6 separate regions of the Homo sapiens genome follow, and regions 2, 3, 4, 5 and 6 are each linked to region 1. The links are contacts of gene promoters, found by promoter capture Hi-C in blood cells and fetal thymus (Javierre and others, 2016). All regions are on one chromosome and are shown on one strand. Each heading gives the region's core, a stretch centred on a gene start or on the middle of the fragment in contact. The rest is flanking DNA. Distances are from core to core; before and after follow the strand shown.

What was found. Contacts are between HindIII fragments. The CHiCAGO score rates a contact against its expected background, and 5 or more counts as called.
Region 2: a contact is called between a fragment that was not itself captured here and the fragment with the promoter of BCORL1 in region 1, in 13 of 17 cell types (activated CD4 T cells, naive B cells, fetal thymus and 10 more). The highest score is 12.7, in activated CD4 T cells.
Region 3: a fragment that was not itself captured here is called in contact with the fragment with the promoter of BCORL1 in region 1 in 10 of 17 cell types (activated CD4 T cells, non-activated CD4 T cells, total B cells and 7 more); the score reaches 16.5 in activated CD4 T cells.
Region 4: a fragment that was not itself captured here is called in contact with the fragment with the promoter of BCORL1 in region 1 in 7 of 17 cell types (total B cells, activated CD4 T cells, naive CD4 T cells and 4 more); the score reaches 11.1 in total B cells.
Region 5: a fragment that was not itself captured here is called in contact with the fragment with the promoter of BCORL1 in region 1 in 3 of 17 cell types (naive CD4 T cells, total B cells and naive CD8 T cells); the score reaches 5.9 in naive CD4 T cells.
Region 6: a fragment that was not itself captured here is called in contact with the fragment with the promoter of BCORL1 in region 1 in 9 of 17 cell types (activated CD4 T cells, M0 macrophages, non-activated CD4 T cells and 6 more); the score reaches 10.2 in activated CD4 T cells.

The regions. Positions count from the first base shown.
Region 1 is chrX:129,981,293-129,983,926 of GRCh38, reverse strand. BCORL1 (BCL6 corepressor like 1) reads right to left here and starts at 1,292. Exons shown (of 14, transcript NM_001379451.1): 1 at 1,165-1,292. RefSeq lists a silencer at 227-463. The HindIII fragment of the contact is 8,398 bases long and covers 1-2,634 here.
Region 2 is chrX:129,620,109-129,622,742 of GRCh38, reverse strand. No RefSeq gene overlaps it. Among named protein-coding and RNA genes, the nearest start is that of APLN, 34 kb to the left of the region's middle. The HindIII fragment of the contact is 3,328 bases long and covers 1-2,634 here.
Region 3 is chrX:129,639,860-129,642,493 of GRCh38, reverse strand. No RefSeq gene overlaps it. Among named protein-coding and RNA genes, the nearest start is that of APLN, 14 kb to the left of the region's middle. The HindIII fragment of the contact is 481 bases long and covers 1,084-1,564 here.
Region 4 is chrX:129,665,058-129,667,691 of GRCh38, reverse strand. No RefSeq gene overlaps it. Among named protein-coding and RNA genes, the nearest start is that of APLN, 11 kb to the right of the region's middle. RefSeq lists a silencer at 1,066-1,360 and an enhancer at 1,066-1,360. The HindIII fragment of the contact is 1,101 bases long and covers 756-1,856 here.
Region 5 is chrX:129,684,296-129,686,929 of GRCh38, reverse strand. No RefSeq gene overlaps it. Among named protein-coding and RNA genes, the nearest start is that of APLN, 31 kb to the right of the region's middle. The HindIII fragment of the contact is 2,491 bases long and covers 62-2,552 here.
Region 6 is chrX:129,711,053-129,713,686 of GRCh38, reverse strand. No RefSeq gene overlaps it. Among named protein-coding and RNA genes, the nearest start is that of XPNPEP2, 27 kb to the left of the region's middle. The HindIII fragment of the contact is 863 bases long and covers 895-1,757 here.

The sequences.
Region 1 (2,634 bases), core at 43-2,542:
GATTGCCCCTGATCCCGAAACCCGGCCCCGTAACCGGAGCCTCCCTCCTTCCAGCCCTCGGCTTCGCTCGCCGACCCCTTGCCTCCAGGCCTGGCGCGAAGCGGGTGGAGGGCTTGCACGCCGGATCTCCCCTCTGGCTTGCCGGTGCTAGTATGAATTGCCCCCGATCTCATCTTCCTTCAATTTAAGCCCCCTCCCCGCCGCGCCCGGCCCGGCGGCCCCCGCCCCTAGAGCGAGGGCAGCGGAGCCAGGGCGCTCCGAAGTCATCCCCCGCCTTTTTTCCAGGGACTCGGATAATTGCCCCTGCCCCCATCACAGCACTCCCACTCCCGAACCCAGGCCCCGCCGCCACCTAGGGGTACCCCTTACCCTACGATTCCCGCACCCCAGCGCCGGGAAGAAAGCAGCCCTGAAGAGCACCCGTCGCACCTCCCCTCTGAGGTTGGAGGGCATTTTCTCCCGGTCTCTTCAACACTTCATCACGGACACCCCCCCCCCCCAAAAAAAAGCCTTTTCTCGCCCTGCCCTGCTAGCCAGCCTCCCTTCGGATCGTCGGATCCTTGGATCGGGGGTTGGAGTCAGGTAGTTAACAAGACCATAGCCTCCACCTCCCTTTCCGAGGAGTGGGGTAATTCCTATGGTTTCCCCCCCAGGATCAACCGACCCCCGTTTCCATGGAGACCCCCGCCCAGCCGGGAAGAAGACTCTCTTGGATCGTGGCGAACGAGTCTCACCTGGCTAAGAGAGAAGGGGGTCGAGAAGGGGGTAGGGCAAGTCAGGGGATGGGGTACGAAGGTGGGAAGTGGAAGGGAGCTGTCCCGAAGGGAGGGGCGAAGACATACCCAGCTCCAGGGAGCGCTACGTCCGGGGACACGAAGAGGACGGCGCCCCCGGGGGGCAAGCCGAGCGGCCGCAGGGAAAAGAAGGAACAGGGTTGGAGAAAGGCTTAAGATAGAAAGAAGCGGGTGGGGGGATACGAAAAAGCCGGGGAGTCAAAAGGGGTGGAGGGATTGGGGGAGAGAGAAAAAAGACGCACCTGTTCCCGGGTCGGCTCCGCGGGGAGGCTCAGGCCGCCACCCGGGCTCCCTCTTACTCCCTCTTAACCGCCACCCGCCTAATACTGCCCCGATCTGATGCCCCCCTCCGCCCCTTATCGCCACCGACCTCCTTCTCCTCTCTCTCGGCGGCGGCGGCGGTCGGACTCTAGGAACTGAGAGGAAGAAGGGAGGGCTCAGCAAAGCGGAGGAGAGACAGAGCCACACACTGGCAGCAGCCGCGGCGAGCGAAAGAGTGAGGGGGAGAGCGGTGTGTGTGTGTGTCTGTGTGCGAGCGAAGCCTGGTGGAGTGGGTGCCGGTCGCAGGGCTCGACGGGAAGTGGAGTCCGGCTGGGTCCGCGGGCGGCGCCAACCCCCGCTCCACCGGACTACAACTCCCAGAATGCGGCCTACGCGGGTGGGGGGGAATGGGGAGGAGGAGGCGAAGGGAGGGAGCGAGCAAGAGAGGGAGGGACGAAAGCAGGGAGCAAGCGGCGGCGAAGGGGGCAGAGCCAAGCAGCCCCGGTGACACTGGGAGGGGAGGAGAGGAGGAGGGGATCGCTGAGAGGACCGAGCGGATTCCGGAGAGGGAGGCAGCAGTGGCTGCAGCAAGCCGGGCAAAAAGCTAGACTCCTGGGAGAGGCGGAGGCGCTCAATCTGCGGGGCTGCAGGAGCCCCACGTCCCCCCCCACCTCGACGCCCCTCGAAGGGGGAGGTTGAGGAAGGGAGAGGGTCAGTGAGCCGCGGCCAAAGGGTTCTCTCTCTTTCTTCCAACGTTCTCCACCTTATGCCCCGACCTGACTTTCTCAGGCCACTGGTGCCGATCCAGTGTGCAAATCTCGAGACCCCAGATCTCCTCTGCCGGGCAGCGGAGAACAGACGCATTCAGTCCCCTTCTCCCAGGGGCCTGAGGGAGGCTCCCCTTGCAGGCAGGGCGTGACTCCCCCTTCTTCCCGCTCCCCCCCCCACCGTCGTCGCCACCCCCCCATCTCCCTCCCCGGAACCCCTCCCCTGAAGCCGGGGCTCGCCTCTCTCTCTCCCCGCCAAGACACGGAGTCCTTCTGGGGACGACTACCCAGCCCCCTCCCTTATACTGGGCCCCTACCCACCAGTATCCCCTTCTTAGCGTTGCCCCCTCACCGAAATAATGGTGGGGGCGACCCGAGTTGGACTGGTGGCTACTTTCCCTCCAAGGCTAGCCGTCCTTCGCCACGCCGACCCTGTGTAGAAATAGAGAAGCATATTAATACTCCCGTCCCCCCTCCCCCCCAGATTTGAATACCCGTGGAAGTGGCTCACAAGAAAGAGGGGTTGGTAGTGGAAGTGAGCTAGGGGTGAATCCCAATCTTCAAACCTCATCCCTCCCATGGAAATCCAGGTATTCGCCTTTTGCTTAAAAGCCATTAAATCGCTTGGGTGGGGGGTAAATTATCTAAACCCCAATGTCCATGCGACTCGAAGCGACGCTACCTTGTAGGAATAAGATACGAACTAGGTTGCCGCCACGGGAAGGAAAGTATCCCCCACCCCCGTCGCCGTCCACCCCCAAAAACACATACCCCTAGGAGAGTCAGATGGCTGAAGAAGGGGGAAGGCGGTG
Region 2 (2,634 bases), core at 35-2,534, 360 kb after region 1:
TCTCTCTGAGGAAGGCAGGCAGCCCCCACCCGATTCACCCTGCCTAAAAGGCAGGGTACCTTTTAGGCCTAGGGAAAGCAGGGGGAGATTAAGGCCATTGTCTTTTTTTCTGTTTTTGTTTTTACAGACAGGGTCTCTCTCTGTCACCCAGAATGGAATGCAGTAGTGCGATCATGGCTCACTGCAGCCTCGACCTCCTGGTTCAAGCAATCCTCCTGCCTCAGCCTCCTGAGTAGCTGGGACTACAGGCCGGTGTCACCACACCCGGCTGATTTATTTTTTGTAGAGATGGGGGTCTTTCTATGTTGCCCAGGCTGGTCTTGAACTCCTGGTCTCAAGTAATCTTCCTGACTCAACCTTCCAAATTGGTGAGATTATAGATGTGAACTACTGTGCCAGCCAAAGACAACTGTCTGTAGCTCTTTCCCTGCCTGAACCCAGGCTTATGCTTCCTTTGCCAAAAGTAGGGCTGGTCCTGAGGGCATCTGGGCCTGGAAGGTGTACTTACCCTCTTGCTGTTTCACTGGGCCCACACCAGGGCGGGCTAACTGGGCATTGCTTAGCCTCCAAGTCTTCTATAGGTGCTTCAGCGAATAGCACCAGGCCCCAGGCAAATTGAGGCCTCTCTGTCTGGAGAATCTGTCTCACCTTAGTCCCCTGTTACATGTTTCCTCCATATTTTTTGCAGTGCAGCGCCCTCTAAGCATGCTCCCATTGACATAGGTTGTGATAATAACCTGTCCTCCAAATTTGTAGTAATCATGGCCACTCCCTTAGTGAACCTTCACGTCGCTCAAGATTTTAGCACAGGGAAGACAGGCTAAGGTTCCCAGCATAGAAGCAATAGCATCCTCTGCCCCCTTTGTTCTCCCATTTAAGAATATGGGTCAGAGGGAAAGTGACTTTATTCTAGGGATAACGCCTCCCTTATTTGTAATAAGAATAATCTTGAATCTAACCTCTTTTATGATGCAAAGTCACTTCTTTGCAAACTTTGATACTTTTTATTAGTAACACACCTTACAATTGATCTACCTCAACTCTGTTGTTAACAGAGATGGCCCCATCCAGAGCCTACTCTGGAATTCGATGGTATAAGAGGGTTTCCAACAAGTGGTTTTCCTGCAATTGCCCCAGCCGAGGTGGGGTGGTGGGGACTATGGGTCCCCACCAGATGGCAGGCAGCAAGGCCACCTCCTGGGCTGTGCACACAGCAGCAACAGCAGTAGTAATCAATGATAAGAACACACGTCAGGAAATATAGACACATGGAGGCCTTCAACATGAGAGAGGGAAAGGTGCTTACAGATCACATGGACCTTGCTGTCCAGAACCGTCACCATGAGCCACATGTGGCTATGGAGCACTTGAAACGTGGCTACCACAAAACAGAATGTTCTCCAAGGGTAAAACACACAATGGAATCTGAAGACTTTCTATGAAAAAAAAAAAAGAATGTAAAAGATCTCACTAATATTTTATATTGATTACATGTTAAAATGATAATATTTTGGATATACCAAATTAAATTAAAAATATACTATTAAATATACATAATTACAAAGGGACACGAGGAATCTTCCGGGAATGTTGCATGTGGTTCACCCTCTTGATTGTGGTGATGGTTTCAGGGAGGTCTACATATATCGAAACGTGTCAAATTGTACACTTTAGATATGAACACCTTATTATATGTAAATTGTATCTCAATAACACTGTTTAAAAATTCCTCAGTGGCTTCCCCGTGGCTACTCTAAAGGATAAAAATAACTAAGTTCTTCAGTTTATTTTTTTCAATGTGGCTACTAGAAAATTTAAAATTACATATTGCATTATTATCTATTGGACAGGGCTGGTCTAGTGATTCCAGTCCATTTTACAGATCATGAAACTAAGGTCCAGAGACAGGAAGGGCCTTGCTCATATATTGCTTAAGGGCTGGCACCAGAATGCACAGGGCAAGACTACCTATGTTGGTAAAAAATACTTAGATAAGCTCTGAAGAGTAGAAAGTGATACCCATCCCTGATTTAATACCCTTTATAGGTGCCAAGGCCTCAGGGGGCAGGGGAAGAATTTGGAGCAACTTCGGAAACCCTGGAGGGAAAGAGAGGAGCAGGGAGAAAAGGGGACAGAGGAGCCAGAGAGGTGTGGGAAGGCTGTCCACTGTGTGAGGTGACCACATCCACCTCCCAGGATTTCATCCCACCAAAGATCTTTAGTAGATTCCACTACTCACATTTTCTTGGTGGGAACTGAGAAAGGGTCTAGGTCTGGTGCTTTGGTCAACAGTGTGAAAGCAGAGACCAAGCTCAGAGCTGCAGAACGTGGGTGGTAAGAAGGCCATGAGGATATAACTCTTCCCTCTTCTTCCACTCTAAGGGAAGGTGGCTTAGAGTGGGAAAAGGAAGGTGACTTCAAGCTCAGTCTTTAAGCACTGGAGGACAATGGGTCTCACAGCACTTTAAGGGGTGCAGTAGCAACACTCACCCCAGGCCTGGATCAAGAAAAAGTAGCCATGCCCCTCTGACCAGACCCAGCCCAGACAATGCTGCCCATTTCCCAGAGGGCCTTGCTGAGCTTCACTGGCCAAACACTAAGCTCTAAGGCAACTGTTCATTCAAGGATTTCAAT
Region 3 (2,634 bases), core at 75-2,574, 340 kb after region 1:
CTTCCCAGCCCTGTCTCAAATGAAGCATCAGCAAGCCCTTCAACTCAGCCCCTGAACCCTTGCCTGGAGTCCAAGGGGAAGACTTACATTCTGCAGCAAGGTGTAGAATTAAGTGATTTAATACACTGGTTATGAGATGGCCTCTGATAATAATCATACTAACAAAGTGATTCCAGTGGAAGGGGAAGTCTGGAGTCAGATCAGGGTTCAAATCCTGGCACTACCATTTACTCACCTGTGTGACCTTGCAGCAAGGGTCTTGATCTGGATGAGCCCATGTTTCTGCTTTAGGCAGGATGCTGCTGCCCAATTTATAGCACTGTGGTCAGGATTGACCGCGATGATGCAGGGAAAGTGTTTGGCACAGTGCCCGGCCCATGTTACAAGCCTACCAAGTGGGAGCTATTATTATCTCTGTTAAGCCTCATTCTAGCCCTGAGAACTGGACAGGGCAGCCATCATTACCCCAATTTATAGATGAAAAATCAGGCTCATGGAGGTGAGGTCACTTGTTCAAATTCATAGAGCCACTCATGGGTGAGTAGAGCTTCAAACCTGGGTCTGTCCCCGGCTCAGGTCAGCTGCTGCTATGGTTTGAATGCATCCTTCAACTTCATGTTTTGGAAATTTAATCCCTAAATTCATATGTTGATGGTATTTGGAGGTGGTGCCTTTGGTAGGTAATTAAAATTAAATAAGGTCATCAGGGTTGTGCCCCTATGATGGAACTGGTGGCTTTATAAGAAGAGGAAGAGAGACCTGAGCTGGCACACTCTTGCCCTCTTGCCATGTGATGCCATTCTACCACGTCATGATTTAGCAAAAAGTCCCTCACCAGACGCCAGTGCCATGCCCTTGGACTTCCCAGCCTCCAGAGCTGTGAGCTAAATAAACTATTTTTTTTATAAGTTACCCAGTCTGTGGCTACAGAAAACAAACTATGATAGCTTCCCTGCTTCTGCTAAGGGTCCTCTTTCCCACCATGAGTGTGCCTCAGTCACTAGAAATTTCCGGTCTCCCAGATAACCTTTAGGGCCTCCCCAGGGACAGATTACGTCCTCGGCATTTTTCCTTGTAGAAGCTTAGCTTGGGCAGCAGCCCAGGAGGCCTCTCCAAAGGTGTTAAGTGCTCACCATTAGCACCTGATCTGTCTGGAATTGTGGAGCCAGGCACCTGTTCCAGCACACCTGCTTGGCCATTGGGGTTCCTTTCTGCACAAGGCCAGGGGCTCAGAAACGTGGGTTCCAGTCCTGAATCTGCTTCTACCCAGGGCTTGCTGGGTAGCTTAGCAAAGTCTTTCCTTGGCCCTTTCTGGGTCTCAGCCTCCTCACCTGCCCAGGACACCTGGGTGGGTAGATGTGAAGCACCTGCTTGTGACTAGGGATTTGTTGGGGTCCCAGCTAACAGTGGGGGGTGATTCAGGCTGCCCTCCAGAGGCAATTCAGGACCTGACCCAGGGACCTGTAGGGAGGAGCTCTGGGAGAAGAATTAGGCATATGGCAGGAAAATGGGAACCTAAGCCAGTGAGGAAGTCCACTGCTGGGTTACGTGGGTTGCACAAGCTTCCCATAACCCCAGGGCCTGCTGGAACCTCCATTCCATACTTCTCCCTTTGCACAAATTAAATGCTTTCTGATCTTCCCTGAATGTTAAAAAATTGGCACACTGCTGCAGAGCTAGCCTGGTGGTGTGAAACTTGGGGTTCTGAGCTCTGGATCCTAACCCCAGCTTGGTCAGTAACTGGCTGTGTGACTCCAGGCAGGTCTGTTCATCTATCAGGGGTCCTGGTTCTCCCTCATCTATTTTCATAGGATGACAATCTCTGCTTTCCCTACCTTAAACACACAGAATCATAGAAGGGCAGAGCTGACATGAGCCTGAGAGATCATTCAGTACCCTAAGCCCTGTTATTTTTACAAATGAAGAAAGTGGGACTCAGAAAGGATAAGTGAACGCTTAAGGAACATAGCTAGATAGTCCTAGCAAACTCATGTAGAGCGCTTCTCATGTGCCAAGCACTGTTTGAGGAACTTCACCTGTCCTGACTTAGTCAGTCCCCATCACAATCCCATTTTATAGCTGAGGAAACTGAGTCACTGAGAAGGTAAGCCATTAGTCTAAAGATCTTCTGTGGTATGTGCAAACGAACTGAGAGAAACAAGGTGGCATTGCTTTAAAGGAAGGCAAAGGCACTGCTGAAATGCCAAGCATTCCCTCCAGGGCTGCAGTCACCTCTCGTCTGTAGGGGAGGGGCTTCGCTTTGGCACCCTCAGTCCCAGGGCAACAGAACTGCTTGTGATTTGGGGGCTGTGAGAGGCCTGTTGGAAAGAGGGTGCCTCTTTTTCCATCTAGGCAGAGACATCTCTGGCTCCCTCCCCAGCAGGTGTAGGGATAGAGGCTGGTGACTTTGGCATACGTTATGGGGGGTTTCATCCCCCATGTCTCTAGGCTCCTGAGCTTTCTGGAAGCCTGGAGTTCCTCTCTCCTTTGGAAATTCCCAACTCCTCAGATGTGAGGGATATGGAAAGATAAGAGAGGATAAACAAAGCAGGGAGGAAAAAGGTCCCAGTGAGGAGTGCAGGGGGATGGAGGAGGGAATCTCACCACACAGCCCCTTCCACCTCCAGCACTGCA
Region 4 (2,634 bases), core at 57-2,556, 320 kb after region 1:
TAAAAAGGTCTAAATGGTAAATTTTGTTATATATACCTTTCACCACAATAAAGAAAACAAACAAAAGACTGACCACACCAAGTGTTGGTGAGGATATGGAGGAACTGGAATTCTCATACACTACTGGTGAGAATGTTAAATGGTATGACCATTTTGAAAAATGGTTTGGTAGTGTTATAAAAGTTAAACAGACATCTACCATATGGCTTAGCATTCCACTCCTAGGTATTTTCCCAAGGGAAATGAAAGTCTTTGTCCATACAGAGACTTGTATATGAATATTCATAGCAGTTTTATTGGCAATAGCCAACATCTAGAAAAAAAAAACCATCCATGTGCATCAACACATGAATGAATAAACAAAATATGGTGGAAACCACTCAGCCATTCAAAAGTAATGACCTGCTGATACACAAAACACTGTTAATACATACAACAGCAGGAATAAATCCCAAAATAATTTTTCTGTGTGAAAGAAGCCAGCAAAAACAGAGTACGTATTGTGTTATTCTGTTTATTAAAAATTCTAGAAAATGCAAACTATATATTAACAAGTAAACCCTCCCTCCAGCCCCTCCCCTCTCCTCCATCCCCAGGTGACTGCTTGAAAGCATTATCCCCAAGTGATTGCTTGGAGATGGAGCAGAGGGGAGGGGCTGGATGGAGAGTTTACAAAGAGGCAGAAGGAAACTGTAGGGATTGATGAAAACTTGATAGTGGTGATGGTTTCATGAGAGTATGTATATGTAAAAGCTTAGCAAATTGTACACTTTTGTACACTGCATGAAACTTGTGCAGGTATTGTATGTCAATTATACCTCTATAGCGCTATAAACAAAAAAGGAGGGTGTCTTTGAACAGATAAACTTCAAGGTCCTTTCCAGCTTCAATTCTGTGGTAACTATTAGAGAAAATTATCCCAAAGCCTGCTACTGAAGTAGTCCTTTGTACTGGGATGCCCAAATCATTGAGACAAAACTGAGGATTTTGCTTGGATTATGCGTAGACATGCTTTTGTTATTCACCTCTCTGGGGCTGTGTAGACTGAACCTCAAAATCCAGTGGGACAGAGTGGGGAAGCACACCACCAAACCAGTGGAAAGACATCCAGGTCAGTGGAGGAAACTGGGGAAATGACAGCCTAATGAGCACTCCTCTTTCCAGTTTCTTTGTCTATGATTCAGAGGATCGGCTTGCCCTGAGCATTCCAGACCAGTGAGGCATCTCAGGGCCATGAATGCAGAGATATCCCAGGGGATAAAACAATGGAAGACAAGATGGAAATAAGAAATGGCCTTTTTAGGTCTCTTGACCCAAATGCAAGGAGCTAAGAGGATATGGAGGAAGAGGTGGAAGTATCCCTTCCCTGCAGGAAGGAGATTATGACTTGATGGGGTCTAGGGAAATCAAATGTAAGAAACTAAAGACCTGGAATGTCAAGCCTCCTGGGATGTTTTTTAGATGGACGTGCTAGAGGAGCAAGAGGAAGGAGGTGATACCACCTCCCCCGCCCCCCCACCCAGCCCCGCCAACCCCTCCGCCTGCCTGCTAACAGTGAAAGCCAAGAAGGCCAGGAAGTGGAAGAATGCAAAGCCAAAAGGCACACTTCAAAGCCGTTTGTCAGCTGGGCAGTGCCTTAAGCAAGTGCCACGGCTGATGGATCACCTCATGGGAAGCACCAGCCAAGAGGGATCCAGCCCAGGAGGCTGTCACCCTATCCTCAGCCTGCACCTGGGTCAGATGCTTTAAAGGAAGACAGTCAAAATCCTAAATACCCGAGGTGACTCCGGGCAATATTTACACCTGAGCAGAATGGCATTTTCTTCTTGATCCCAGAGGGTGATCAGTTATAAGCTTCAAGCCTGAAGCAGGGGAATTGAATGTTCTTGTAATTTTATCCTACATAGCAGAGCCACAGAAATTCTTCTTATCCAGAGGAATGTAGAACTCAAGTATCCTTCCCCACCTCCACCCTTGTTCCTCCTGCTACCCCTAAGTCGTGCACAGTGCACTTCCCACTCCCCCAGAAGAATGGTTACATTGGCCAGTATTGTAATGATTCCTCAAATTAGTAAGGCGTTTCATGGTTTATAAAGCTCCTTCCCTTTCATTCTCTTGTTTTGATTCTTATTCAACCCTGGGAGTGAAACATTGTTTTCTCATTTTTTAGAAGAACTTGAGGGAGCAAAGCACAGATGTTCAGACCTATTCATTCATTCATTCATATATGCATTGATTGGGAAAATGATTGAACACCTACTATGAGTTAGACACTGGCTAGATGCTGAGGACACAGTCATGAAACCAGACAGCCATGGCCCCTGCCCTTATGGAGTTCAGTCTAGTTGGACAGTGAGGGGTGGATGGGGTGAGCCAGACATTAACTGAACACAAACTGAATTGTGAACTATGAGAAGCGATTACAGGGGAATTTCAGCCAGTCTGAGGGCCAAGGAAAACATCTCTTGAGGAGGAGTGATTTGACATTAGAGATGAGCTGATTGATGATAGGCATTAGCCAGGAGAAGACAGGGTAGAGCAGAGAATCATTCAGTAGGAGGAAAAAGTATTGGGAAGGCACTGTGACAGGAGGGACATGGCATTGCAGATAGAAAGAGGATAAGAGGCAAGAGA
Region 5 (2,634 bases), core at 58-2,557, 300 kb after region 1:
GTGGGGATGGGCTAGGTTTGCTTCTTAGTAACAAAGAGAGCATTTAAATGGAAAAGAAGCTTGGGGGGCCCTCTGGGACTGTCTCAGTTGGTTATTTCTCTCTGCTTCTAGATAACTTCAGGCAGCTTGGGGATCTGGATTCCCTTTGCCTGTAGCCTGTGGCTAACACTTCCCCCAGTGTGAAGGGAGGCTGAGCTTCTGCAGCCCTCTCTACTGGAGGAGTTGGCCTTTTCCACACCAACCCTGGCAAAGGTTCATAAGCTATTCAGGGAGTTGCAAAAACTGGGAGGCCACAGCCGGGGAGGAGTAGGAAGGAGAGTGCTGGGAGAGAAGAGCTGCATGAAACGGGCTCTGCTGCCTGGCAGGGCTGAATACTGTCTTCTCTGGAGGGAGGTCAAGGGCACAGCTGAAGCCTGTTTGCATCCCCCTCCCTCCTACATCCCTGTGATAATAGCTCCTAACATTGATTGAGCCCTTAATATGAACCAGGCACTGTTCTCAGCCTTTTTCATGGATTATCTCACTTAATCCTTCACAACAGCCCTATGAGGTAGGTCTATTATTATCCCTATTTTAGAGATTAAATAATAATAATTTCTAAACCCCCCTGAGGCACATAGAGGTTAAGTAAGCTACTAAGTGGCTGAGTCAGGATTATAAACCCAGACAGTTTGGCTCAAGGGAGCAACACCTACCCACTAGGCATTACTGCTTCACACATATAGCTGAGCTACATTGTCCCACCCTGTGGGGCTGCCCTCTGGAGTGTCTCTCCAAGGCTTGCTTTCTTGGGGCCTATCTCATATTTTGAATATTGTAACAGCCACCAATTTACTGAGTGCTTACTATGCACCAGGGACTGTACTAAGCACCTTGGGTGATTTACATGGTTTATTTAGTATAATCCTTACAACCACCCTATGGGATAAGTATTATCACTATCTCCATTTTGCAGGTGAGGAAATTGAGGCTCTGAAAGGTTTAATACCTTATTCAAGGTTAAATTAGTAAGTAGCAGAGCCAGGATTTAAATTTGAACCAAGATCTATCTCATTCTGAAGCTCTAAGAATTTCATTCATTCATTCAACCAACCCACCCAAATTTTAGGCTGGCTGCTATATGCCAGGCACTGTGCTCGGCCTAGGTGGGTATGCACAATGACAATATTTCTGACTCTATATCTTTAGATTAGACTACTCTTAAGAACTGCAGACTCATAAATCCAACTGTCTATTTGACACTACTATGTGGATGTTTAGTAGGTATCTCAAACTGACATGTTCAAAACAACTCAACGTTTCCTCCAAATTCACTCCCCCAATGCCTTCCTCAGTTCTGTAAATGGCATCCCCATCTGTTATGGTCTGAATGTTGGCCCCCCTTCTCCTCCCAAAATTCATATGTTGAAACCTAATCCCTAGTGCAGTGGTATTAAGGGGTGGGGACTTTAGGAGACAGCCCAGGTGAAGGGGATTAGTGCCCATACAGAAGAGGCCTCAGGGAGCTTGTTTGCCCCTTCTGCCATGTGAAGACACAGCAAGAAGGTGCCATCTATGAAGTAGAGGGTGAGCCCTCATCAGATACTGAATCTGCTGGTGCCTTGATCTTTGACTCACATTCAAGAACTATAAGAAAAAAGTTCTGTTGTTTATGAGCCACCCAATCTAAGGTATTTTGATGTAGCAGCCTGAACAGACACCATCCATGCAGTTGTTCAACCCCCACATAGAAGCCATCTTTGATTCCTCTCTTTACCTCATCCATGACATCTAATCTATCAGGCTATCTGGTTGACTTCATCACCAAACATATCCTTAATCTTTACACTTTTCTCCACCATCCCTCTGCCCACCAATCCACTCTCCATAAGGAAGTCAGCATGATCTTAAAACACCAATCAGATCATTTCCTTCTCCTGCTTGAAACACTCCAGTGGATTCCCATATGTTCATGACCTAGAAGGCCCTGCCTGATCTGGCCCCTGCATTTCTACCTTGATCTCCTGCCATGTTCCCATCCCTTGCCATGCATCTTCTTCCTGTTCCTCTAACAGGCCAAACTCATGACCACCTTTGAGCCTTTGCTCTCATACCTCCTGCCTGGAATGCTCTCCCTCTGAGATGGTTCCTTCTTATGATCCAGATCTCAATTTAAATGTCACCTCCTCACAGAGGCCTTCCCTACCTCTTTACAAAATAGCTACTCTCTTTTCTCTGCATGGCTCTTATTACTAAAGATTTTTGGCGGTTGTGGTGGCTCATGCCTATAATCCCAGTGCTTTGGGAGGCTGAGGCAGGAGGATCATTTGAGCCCAGTTTTAGACCAGACTGGGCAACATAGTAAGACCCCGTCTCTCTCTACACACACACACACACACACACACACACACACACACACACACACACACAAAGCTAGGTGTGGTGGCACACGCCTGGGAGGCTGAAGCGGGAGAATAACTTGAGTCCAGTGAGTTACGATCACGCTGCTGTACTCCAGCATGTGTGACAGAGTGAGACCCTGTCTCTAAAAAAAAAAAAAGAAAAAGAAAGCTTTTTAAAATTTTCTGACCTACCTGTGTTTCCCATCCACTAGAATAAAAGCTCCAGGAGAGCAAGGAGCTGACTTCTCTTATT
Region 6 (2,634 bases), core at 77-2,576, 270 kb after region 1:
GCTAGTTCATTGATTCCTGTTCTTATCTTCGTTATTTCCTTTCTTCTACTTATTTTGGGCTTAATTTATTCTTCCTTTTCTAGCTTTTTAAGCTTGAAACTGTTAAGTTTAGCATGAAATTGCCTCCTTACGTGTTTTAAGTTCGGCCTAAAGGTTTCTGTGTGCATAGTGAACTGTAACCTAACTGGATGTGTAAACAAACTGTAACCTGCTCTTGTACGAGTCACCGAGTTTTGGCAAATCACAGGCGGCCAACTGTTCAAATTGTGTTCAAATAAGGCAAACATTGAGCTGTAATTAATCCAGCTGGTTCTGTACCTCACTTCCATTTTCTTTTTCTTTTCTTTTTTTTTTTTTCTTTTTGAGACAGAGTCTCACTCTGTCGCCCAGGCTGGAGTGCAGTGGCACAACCTTGGCTCACTGCAACCTCTGCCTCCTGGGTCTCAAGCGATCAATCCTCCCTCCTCAGCTTCCTGAGTAGCTAGGATTATGGGCGTGTGTCACCACACTCAGCTGATTTCTCTATTTTTGGTAGAGATGGGGTTTCGCCATGTTGCTCAGGCTGGTCTGGAGCTCCTGGGCTCAAGCGATCCACCAGCCTTGATCTCCCAAGGTTCTGGGATTACAGGCGTAAGCCACTCTGCCCAGCCCACACTCCCGTTTTCTGTACATCACTTTCCTTTTTCTGTACATAAATTTTCTCCAACCACATGGCAGTGCTGGAGTCACTCTAAATCTATTCCGGTTTAGGAAGCTGCCTGATTTGCAAATTGGTCTTTGCTGAATTTAACTCTGTTAAATTTAATTTGTCTAGAGTTTTTCTTTTAACAAAGCTGAGGTCATTGATCTAAGACCTTTCTTCTTTCTTAATATAGGTATCGAGTGCCATAAGCTTCCCCCTAAATACTGCTTTAGTGACATCCCGCAAATTTTTATATGCTGTCTTCATTTTCATTCATTTAAAAATGCTTTTCAATTTCCCTTTTGATTTATTCTCTGACTCATGGATTATTTTGAAGTGTGTCATTAATTTCCAAATATTTAAGGATTCCATAGATATCTTTTTTGTTATTGATTTTGAATTTAATTCTGTTGAGATCAGAGAACATACATTCATGATTTTAGTCCTTTTAAATTTATTGAGACTTGTTTGATGGTCCAGCTTATGGTCTATCTTGGAGAATGTTCCATATGTGCTTGAGAAGACTGTGTATTCTGCAGATATTGGGTGCAGTGTTCTATTCATGCCAATTAGGTCAGGTTGATTGAGGGTGCTGTTTAAGTGGGTTTTTTTGTTTGTTTGTTTGTTTTTGTTTTGTTTTGAGACTGAGTCTCACTCTGTCACCCAGGCTGGAGTTCAGTGGTGCTATCTCAGCTTACTGCAACATCCACCTCCCAGGCTCAAGTGATTCTCCTGCCTCAGCCTCTCTGGTAGCTGGGATTTTAGGAGCCTGCCACTATGCCTGGCTAATTTTTGTATTTTTATTATAGTGGAAACGGGGTTTTACCACATTGGCCAGTCTGGTCTCAAACTTCTGACCTCAAGTGATCTGCCTGCTTCGGCCTCCCAAAGTGCTGAGATTACAAGTGTGAGCCACCACTCCTGTCAAGATGTTAAGTCTTATATACTCTTACTGATTTACTGTTTACTTATTTTATCAGTTACTGAGAAAGAACTGTTGAACTCTCCAACTATAGTTGCAAATTTGTCTATTTATTTCAATTCTGTCAGTTTTGAGTTCATGTATTTTGAAGCTTGTTATTAGGGACATACACATTTAAGATTGTTATATTGTCCTGATGACTGTTTTATCATTAAACATGTCTATTCCTGGTAATATTCTGTGTCTTAAAGCTTACTTTGAAATTAACATAGCCACTCCTGGTGCATCTTTATCATTTTAGTTTTAACCCATCTGTGTCTTTATGCTTAAAACATATGCTTGAAACAAATGTTGAGTCCAATTTTCTTTTTAATGCAGTAGGACAATCTCTAACTTTTAATTGTACTGCTTAGAGTCCCTTCACATTTGATGTCGTTATTGATATTGTTGAATTTAGGTCATCCACTTCTCTATTTGTTTTCTATTCTTCCTTTCTATTCTTTGTCAACTTTTTCCTCTATTTTTGCCCTCTTTTGGGTTGAGTATTTTCTTTTATTTTTGTTGAGATGCAGTTTTGCTCTTGTTGCCCAGGCTGGAGTGCAATGGCACGATCTTGGCTCACTGCAATCGCCGTCTCTGGGATCAAGTGATTATCCTACCTCAACCTCTGAGTAACTGGGATTATAGGCGTGCACCACAATGTTCGGCTAATGTTTGTATTTTTAGTAGAGATGAGATTTCACCATGTTGGCCAGGCTGGTCTCAAACTCCTGACCTCAGGCGATCTGCCCACTTCAGCCTCCCAAAGTGTTGGGATTACGGGCATAAGCCACTGCGCCCGGCCTGGTATTTTCTTAAAAACTTTTTGTTTTAAAATAATTTTAGATTTATAGAAGAGTTGTGAAATGGAGAGTTCCCATAGACCTTTCATCCAACCTTTCATAAACACTTGACATAAACACAATATATTTCTCAAACATAAGAAATTAACCTTGGTACAATACTACTACACTACAGACTTCATTCGGAT